Linked DNA regions of Homo sapiens: region 1 is linked to region 2. The links are contacts of gene promoters, found by promoter capture Hi-C in human tissues and cell types (Jung and others, 2019). All regions are on one chromosome and are shown on one strand. Each heading gives the region's core, a stretch centred on a gene start or on the middle of the fragment in contact. The rest is flanking DNA. Distances are from core to core; before and after follow the strand shown.

Region 1 (4,450 bases), core at 956-3,455, 270 kb after region 2:
AAAGGAGCCCTGGAATTCAATTTCAACCTTTTTTCTTTTCTTTTTTTTTTTTCTGAGATGAAGTCTCGCTCTTGTTGCCCAGTGCAATGCCGCGATCTTGACTCACTGCAACCTCTGCCTCCCGGGTTCAAGCGATTCTCCTGCCTCAGCCTCCCAAGTGGCTGGGATTACAGGCGCACGCCACCATGTCTGGCTAATTTTTGTATTTTTAGTAGAGACAGGGTTTTGTCATGTTGGCCAGGTTGGTCTCAAACTCCTGAACTCAGGTGATCCACCCACCTAGGCCTCCCAAAGTGCTGAGATTACAGGCATGAGCCACTGTGTCCAGCCAATTCAACCTTTTTCCCTTGAAGCCCGCAACTCAAGAGTTCAGCCCCTTCCAAGGGCCTGGTTACTATGGCAGTTACTTCTTAGCAACCAGTTCAAGATGAATACCTCCCTCTAAGCCCCTCTCACTCTGGTTGCTAAGGCAAGTGGCTACTCCCTAGCAACGGGACCTCACGGAGCCTGAGGAGGCCTGACTCCTCCTCAGAGCACTTCCCCCTCGGCCAAATCTGAGAGGTCAGACTCCCTCCATGACCCCAGTGGCCAAGTGTGTGTAGACAGCTGGCCAAGTGTCACTAGGCCAAGTGGGGCCTAAGGAAGCCTAAGAGCTCATCACACCTTTGGTCTGAGTCACCTCCTTGCGAGGCGCACCTCTTCCTCTTCCTAACTTTAGTTGCTAACACTGTGCCAGGTCCGTCTTCTCAGGGGCCCGACTCCATCTCTCACCGTGGCAAAACCAAAGACCTTACCAGCTGCTCCTCTGAACCCCTTCAGCAGCTGGGCTTCCTAAGGGGGTGGCTCTCCAGTCCTGGGACCTGATAAGGCCTGTCTTAAGCCCCAACAATGTCTAAGCCCTCAGCTGCACATCCCCAGAGCAGTTTCAGGCTTCTGCTTCACATGGCAGAAAGCTCCAGAACCGTGAACAGCAAGCTCCAGAACAACAACACTCCCAGCAAGAACAGTAAAGTTCAGGCCCTCAGCAGGCCTTTCCTTCCTTTCCTTCCTTCCTTCCTTCTTTCTTTCCTTCTTTCTTTTCTTTCCTTTCTTTCCTTCTTCCTTTCTTCCTTTCTTTCTTTCGGCAGGGTCTCATTCTGTCACCCAGGCTGGAGGGCAGTGGCACAATCTTGGCTCACTGCAGCCTCCACCTCCCAGGCTTAAGTGATCCTCCTGCCTCAGCCTCCACAGAAGCTAGGACCACAGGTGCGCACCACCACACCCAGCTAATTTTTTTCATTTTTTGTAGAGTTGAGGTCTCACTGTGTTGCCCAGGCTGGTGTCAAACTCTTGAACACAAGCGAAACTCTCGCCTCAGCTTCCCAAAGTGCTGGGAAGATAGGAGTGAACCACCACACCTAGCCAGGCTTTCTTCTCAGAGACTAGATCCCTCCACCACCTTTGTTACTATAAGAACTAGCACCCCCTAAACATCCAGGCAACATTTATTGAGCCCAGGCCAGGCACTGTGGCTCACACTTGTAATCCCAGCACTTTGGGAGGCCAAGGTGGGTGGATCACTTGAGGTCAGGAGTTCGAGACCAGACTGGCCAACATGGTAAAACCCTGTCTCTACTAAAAATACAAAAATTAGGCCAGGTGCAGTGGCTCATGCCTGTAATCCCAGCACTTGGAGAGGCCAAGGTGAGCGGATCACATGAGGTCAGGAGTTCAAGATCAGCCTGGCCAACATGACGAAACTCCGTCTCTACTAAAAATACAAAAATTAGCTGGGCATGGTCGTGCATGCCTGTAATCCCAGCTACTTGGGAGGCTGAGGCTGGAGAATCGCTTGAACCCAGGAGGCAGAGGTTGCAGTGAGCCGAGATCGCACCATTGCACTCCAGCCTGGGCAACAAGAGCAAAATTCCATCTCAAAAAAAAAAAAAAAAAAAACAATAAAAGAAAATAAAACACATTTATTGAACCCCTGTAGTGTTAGTCATCATACTGGACACCAAACCAAGTAGCCCTAAGAAACACGCAAGATGGGCCCTCTTAGTCCCAATCATATAAATAGCAGCTGACACCAGGCGTCTATATAGGAAGTGCTCAATAAATGATTGCTACATAAATACAGGACTTGGACGGGTGCGGTGGCTCACACCTGTAATCCCAGCACTTTGGGAGGCCAAGGTGGGCAGATCATTTGAGGCCAGGAGTTCAAGACCAGCCTGGCCAACATGGTGAAACCCCGTCTGTACTAAATATACAAAAATTAGCCAGATGTGGTGGCGGGTGCCTGTAGTCCAATCTACTGGGGAGGCTGAGGCAGGAGAATCGCTTGAATCCAGGAGGCGGAGGTTGCCGTGAGCCAAGATACAGCCACTGCACTCCAGCCTGGGTGACAGTGAGACTATGTCTCAAAAATAAATAAATAAACAAATAAATGAATACAGGACTTGGCAAAGCCACTCCATGGCTCTTTTCATCACTTCCTCAAAGCCAGACATTCTCTAGCAACAAGGTCTGGTGAAACTGATGCAAAGCATCAGTCCCCTCTTTAGAAACCAGTCTCCACAAGTCCACTGGCTACGGGGAGGGGTCTTTCCTTAGCAGCACGGCTTGGTGCAGTCAGGTGGGGCACAGGGAAGCCTGGAACATGGCAAGCCCATGCCCAGGACCCTATTAGCTACATGGCCAGGTAACTCACCGTATTAGTTACATGTGGCAATGTCTAGTGGGATCCAGGGAGGCCCAGACACCTCCAACCCACCCTGGGGGCTGGCCTCCTCGGTGTTCCTTGTTGCAAAGGGGGCTGACACTCCAAGCCATGAGGACTGACTGGTAAGTCCCAGGCTGACCTGGTAGGGCCCGCGACAGATTCTCTCAGGGCCAGAGGCCTTTGCTGGGACACCACAGGATTTGTGAGCACTTTTGATTTTGCTGTGAGAACTCACCCAGAACTTGACCAGGAAGAAGGCATGGGGGGGGCCACGATCATATAGCTCTCGGAGGCCACCCTTTTTCTCAGGGAATTTGTCGTAGATCTGCCGGACGTCCACACTCTCGAGCGGCGGCGCTCCGGGGCTGGGGCAGTGCTGGCTGATGTGCACGAACAGGTGCCTCTGGTACTGAGGAGGGTTGGCCGTGGGTGAGAAGTCGGAGGTGAGCTGGATCTCCAGCCTGTGCTGCCTGAGCCCACCAAATGCCGTCACCATCCCCACAGCTCTGGCCAGCTGTTCCACACAGTCCACCCAGCACTGGGCCTGACTGCCACCCATCGTCCCCACTCCTGCTTCTGCACCCAGTCCCCTGCAGCCCTGCAGTCCTACAGTCCCCAACTCCCTGCCACAACTCCCCCAACTCCATCCTCACTGCCTCAGCCTCACCTCAGGCCTCCCACCCTCACCCCAGCCTCCAACCTCGCCTCTCCAGTTCATCCCTCATGTGGCTCCAGACCTGCCCCTGACCCTCCCCTGGTCATGGCCCTCCCATAGCTCCCCAGCAGCCCCAGGGCAAAGCTCACACCCCCTAGGCCTGGTCCTATATAGAACAGGTGCTCATAAATGGTCAATGGATGGAAGAGTGAATGAATGGGAATCCACAGAGGTCTTGTGGTTGATGTTTTGATTGATGTTTATATGGTGTGGCAGAGACTGCTACGTGTTCACAAATCCTGGTTCCTTTACACAGTGTGAAACTACATTTCCCAGGCCGCTTTGCAGTTAGGTGTGACCACATGACTAAGTTCTGGCCAATGGGATGTGACCAGGCCTGAGAGTCGACACATCCAAGTCAGATTCCTAAAACCTCCTGCACAATCTTGACTCTCTCCCTTCCTCCATCTGCTGGCCAGATGCAGAGACTCCATCAGCAGATTCTGAAGCCTTAGAAAATGGCAGAGCCACAAAATGGAAGGAGCCTGGATCCCCAAATCACTTGAGTCCAAGGCTCCTGCTGAACCTACATTGAAATGTTACATGCAACTTATCTGGCATTCAGTCCCTAAGAGTTAGGAGCTGTTTCTTCTAACAGTCGGCCCACTCCATCCTAGCCCAGGAGAAGCTCAAGCACAGAAATAAAATCTTTTCCAAGTTCCTAGTATGCATCACAAAGCCTAGTGAACAGTAGAAACTCAAACACGTTTGATAAATGAATGAATGATGTCCTGGGGAGCTTTTCTGACCTTCCCAACTTGTCACCCTATGACCTTCCAGTTCCTTTATGCTAGTAGTTCTCAAAGTACGGTCCCCAGACCAGCTGCATCAACGCACCTGGTAGCTTATTAGAAATGCAAATTCTCAAGCCCCACATCACATCTAGCAAATCAGAAAGCAATCTCTGTTTTAAGAAGCCCTTCAGATGATTCTGATACATGCTAAAGTTTTAAAACCATGACTTTATACATTCCCTTCCTGTCACCCTCTATATTTCAAAATCCCTCAGCGACTGTACCAAAATTTCACTC
Region 2 (4,311 bases), core at 438-2,937:
GGTTATCCCAGACTTCCTCCCAGGATCCCAGGGATCATCCCTGGGCCGCTGACTTTCTGGTTGCCTGACCTGGTGGGTGGCTGGAGACGTGGTCCCTGCCCCTTCATGCGTGGGAACTCATGTTTGAGTAGGGTGCAACCTCTTCTCTCTCAAAGTCCCGCCTCCAGTGTTGATTTTCTAGATGGGGAGCATCCCTGCCCTGGCCCCACCACCTTGTGCCTAGCTTTTCCTTGCCCTCCACAGTCCCAGCCCAGAGTATAATGCGGCTGGGCGCGGTGGCTCACGTCTGTAATCCCAGCACTTTGGGAAGCCGAGGCGGGCGGATCACGAGGTCAGGAAATAGAGACCATCCTGGCCAACACGGTGAAACCCCATCTCTACTAAAAATACAAAAATTAGCCGGGCGTGGTGGCCTGCACCTGTAATCCCAGCTACTTGGGAGGCTAAGGCAGGAGAATCGCTTGAACCCGGGAGGCAGACCTTGCAGTGAGCCGAGATAGCGCCATTGCACTCCAGCCTGGGCGACAGAGCAAGACTCTGTCTCACAGGAAATAAAAAAAAAAAGACCTTCTCTGCAAGCCGAGCCCTAGGCCCCCTCCTCTGGCCCCTCAACCTGGCTTTCTTTCCATAGATTCCTCCTACTGTCGCCCCTCGGGCTCCAGCACCCTCAGCTGGAGTTATTCAGGGCCTGGCTTTCACCACCCAGCCGCACAGACTCCGGAGTTTTCAGGCTCTCCTTGGCCCCCCTCAGCTGTGATTTTTAAGGTTCCTGTCCTCCTACCCCTTGCATCAAGGGCCCTGCCCTCTTCACGCCGGGTTTCTCACTGACCTCAACCCCACCTTCTGATGGGGCAGGTCCTCCGACCCGGATCCTCAGGCCCCGCCTCCCGCCCACCCTGTCTTCGGCTGGCCCACCCCTCGCAGCCCCTGGCCCCGCCTTATGATTGGCCAGGTCCCCTCTGGACCCCGCCCATCTCCTCCCAAACCCCGCCCGTCTCCACCCACGCCCCGCCTCTCACCGGGCCGGCTGCGGCTGCAGCAGCAAGCCCCGTGCCGTCGCGGTCGTCGCGGAAGTCAGGCAGCGTCTCGAGGCAGAAGACGACGATGGAGACGAGGATGACCAGCACGGAGACTACGGCGAGCACGCGCGCGGCCTGAGAGCTCTCGGGAAACTCGAAAAGCAGCCACAGCTGGCGGGCGAAGGCGCGGCGGGGCAGGGGGCGCTCGGGCGGCACCGGGCAGCCCTCGTCCTCGCGCAGGCGTGCCAGGGCCGCCGCGCCCAGCCCGTAGAAGGCCACCTCTTCCAGGAAGACGTCGAGCGGCACGTGCGCCGGCCGCCGCAGCCGCCCACCGGACTGGTAGTAGTAGAGCACGGCGTCGAAGCTGGGCCGGTGCCGGTCGAAGAAATACTCGCGGCGCGCGTCGTCGTAGAAGCGGCCGCGGCGCGCTGGGTCCCCTAGCAGAGTGTCCGGGAAGCGGCCCAGCGTGCGCGCCCGCGTCTCGAAGCGCAGCCCGGCCACGTTGAGCACCAGCCGCTCGCAGCAGCCGCACGGCGGCGGGCACCGCGGCTCCATGGCGCGCGCAGCCCCGGCGACCCGCGAACCGACGTGTGGCCCCGACGCCCGGCCCCGGTGCGGCCCCGCCTCGGCCGCCTCGGCCGCCGCCGCCGCCGCCCCAGCCCGGTGTCCGGTGTCCGGTGTCCGCGCGTAAAAATAGCCCGGCAGGGCGGCTAGGGCGCGAGGGAGGGGGCACTGTGACCCCGGCGGGGCGGAGGGCGACAGGGCGACCGCGCGCCCTCTGCCGGGACGCCCGCCCTGCCCTGCCCCGCCGCCGCCGCCGCCCGCGCCTGCTCTGCGCCTTTCCCGTCCCGGGGTCCCCTTTCTCTCCGTCCTTCTGCCGCCGGGATCCTGTCCTGCGTCTCTCCAAGTTTCCGTGTGCGTGTGTTTCGTCAGAATCAGGCTTCAGTTGCAGTCGCCTCTTTTCTTTTCTCTTTCTTCTTTCTTTCTGTCTTTTTTTTTTTTTTTTTTTTTGAGACACAGTTTCCCTCTGTCGCCCGGGCTGGAGTGCAGTGGCGCGATCTCGGCTCACTGCAACAACCTCCACCTCCCGGGATCAAGCGATTCTCGTGCCTCAGCCTCCCTAGTAGCTGGAATTACAGGCGCCACCAAGCCCAGCTAATTTTTTTTCTTTTTTCTTTTTTAGTTGAGAAGGGGTTTCACCATGTTGGCCAGGCAGGTCTGGTACTCCCGACCTCAAGTGATCTGCCCTCCTTGGCCTCCCGAATTGCTGGGGTTACAAGCGTGAGCCACGGCGCCCGGCCTGGAGTCGCCCTGTTTGCACCTTTGTCTCTCACTCTCTTGTGTGTCTGTGTCCGGCTGTCCCCTCTGGGTCTCTGTCTCTTTTGGGATGTATCTCTGAGTATCTCTATGGGTCATTTATTTCTGAGATTCGTCGTTCTGGGGGCCTCTGTATGGGTCCCTCTGCCAGCCTCTACGTCTCGGTCTCCGCCTTTATTTTGACTCTTGGTCTGTCTCCGTTTATCTCTTGTCTCTCTTGGTCTCTTTGTCTCTCCTCTCTAGGTCTCTTTTTGCTCATTATCTCTTAGCCCTCCATGTCTCTGTCTCAGGGTTCCTCGGCCGCTCCCCTTTGGGTCTCCCCTTGGGGTCTCTAGAGGACTTAGGGTCTCCGGAGTCATATCTCTTGATCTCTCCCTGACCATCACTCCATGTGGGTGCTGCCACAGTCCCGGTGGCTGTCCCATCCTAGGGTCACTCTGGCAGCTGCAAACCACTGAGCATGTGCACACACGCCCCATTCTCTCCCCAGAGTTCGCTCCAGAGTCTCCACCTGGATTCTTCGCAAGACTTTCTGAGACCTAGCAGGACCTGAGCTGCGGCTATGACTCTGGCAAAAGGAGTCTGGTCTTGCCGGAACGGGCGGGGGTTGGGGGTGTGGGCCGGGGAGATGCCACAGGGTCATTTTCAGGAACTGAAGGGCGCAGAGACAAGACGGTGGCCTTCTAGCCACTGGTGTCCGGTGACACTGCATAAAAATAGCTCCATCAGATGGGCTTGGGGGAAGTGGAGGGGTTTGATCACTGAGACTCCCAGGAAAGAAGTCCTGGTCGCCCTCTGCTGGGGGTGTGGAGAGAGGTAGGTACTAAGGGTTCGAACGCCCTGCTAATCCTGGCACTCTTTCTCTTCCTGTCTTCCTTCCTTCCATTCCTTCTCTCTTCTTTTCTTCTTTCTTTCTTTCTTTTTTTTTTTTTCTTGAGAGGAGTTTCCCTCTTGTTGTCCAGGCTAGAGTGTGGGGACGTGATCTCAGCTCACTGCAACCTCCGCCTGCCAGTTTCAAGCGATTCTCCTGCCTCAGTCTCCTGAGTAGCTGGGACTCCAGGCACCCGTCACCACACCCACCTAATTTTTGTATTTTTAGTAGAGACAGGGTTTCACCATGTTGGCCAGGCTGGTCTCGAACTCCTGACCTCGTGACCGCCTGCCTTGGCCTCCCAAAGTTCTGGGATTACAGACGTGAGCCACTGCACCCGGCCTTTTCTTTCTTTTTCTTTTTCTTGAGACGGAGTCTTGCAGTCGCCCAGGCTAGAGTGCAGTGTTGCGATCTTGGCTCACTGCAACCTCCGCCTCCTGAATTCAAGCAATTCTCCTGCCTTAGCCTCTGGAGTAGCTGGGATTACAGGCGCCCACCACACGCGGCTAATTGTTTGTGGGCGGCAAGCCACCCAGGTGCCGAGGCAAGAGACCGAGGGCACGAGCTGTTCCAGTATAATAAAATATATAAAATAAGAATAGTTATAGTAGATATAGATCATAGATATGATTATATATGAATATCATTAATCATTAGTTTGTAGCAATTACTCTTTATTCCAATATTATAATAATCCTCGCTCTACAATCATAACCTAGGAAAAACCAGGCCATACAGAGATAGGAGCTGAGGGGACATAGCGAGAAGTGACCAGAAGACAAGAGTGCGAGCCTTCTGTTATGCCTGGACAGGGCCACCAGAGGGCTCCTTGGTCTAGCGGTAACACCAGCGTCTGGGAACACGCCCGTTGCCAAGTGGACCATGGTCTAGTGGTAGCCTCAGTGCCAAGGAAAACCACCCGCTACTTAGCAGACCAGGAAAGGGAGTCTCTCTTTCCCTGGGGGAGTTTAGAGAAGACTCTACCCCTCCACCTCTTGTGGAGGGCCTGACATCAGTCAGGCTCACCCGCAGTTACCCAGAGGCCTAACCATCTCCCTGTGATGCTGTGCTTCAGCTCCTAGTCCGCTTTCATGTTCCATCCTG

Evidence for each region. The method cuts DNA at HindIII sites, captures the fragments that hold promoters and counts their contacts. A contact is called where the count stands out against the background at its distance.
Region 1: a contact is called between a fragment that was not itself captured here and the fragment with the promoter of KCNA7 in region 2, in 1 of the 25 tissues and cell types used here (dorsolateral prefrontal cortex).

The regions. Positions count from the first base shown.
Region 1 is chr19:49,344,251-49,348,700 of GRCh38, forward strand. TEAD2 (TEA domain transcription factor 2) reads right to left here. Exons shown (of 13, transcript NM_001256660.2): 10 at 2,940-3,113. Among named protein-coding and RNA genes, the nearest start is that of CD37, 11 kb to the left of the region's middle. The HindIII fragment of the contact is 5,882 bases long and covers 1-4,450 here.
Region 2 is chr19:49,071,012-49,075,322 of GRCh38, forward strand. It overlaps KCNA7 (potassium voltage-gated channel subfamily A member 7), which reads right to left and starts at 1,688. Exons shown (of 2, transcript NM_031886.3): 1 at 1,020-1,688. The coding sequence starts at 1,574. RefSeq lists enhancers at 579-1,080, 1,081-1,580 and a silencer at 3,047-3,206. The HindIII fragment of the contact is 9,200 bases long and covers 1-1,798 here.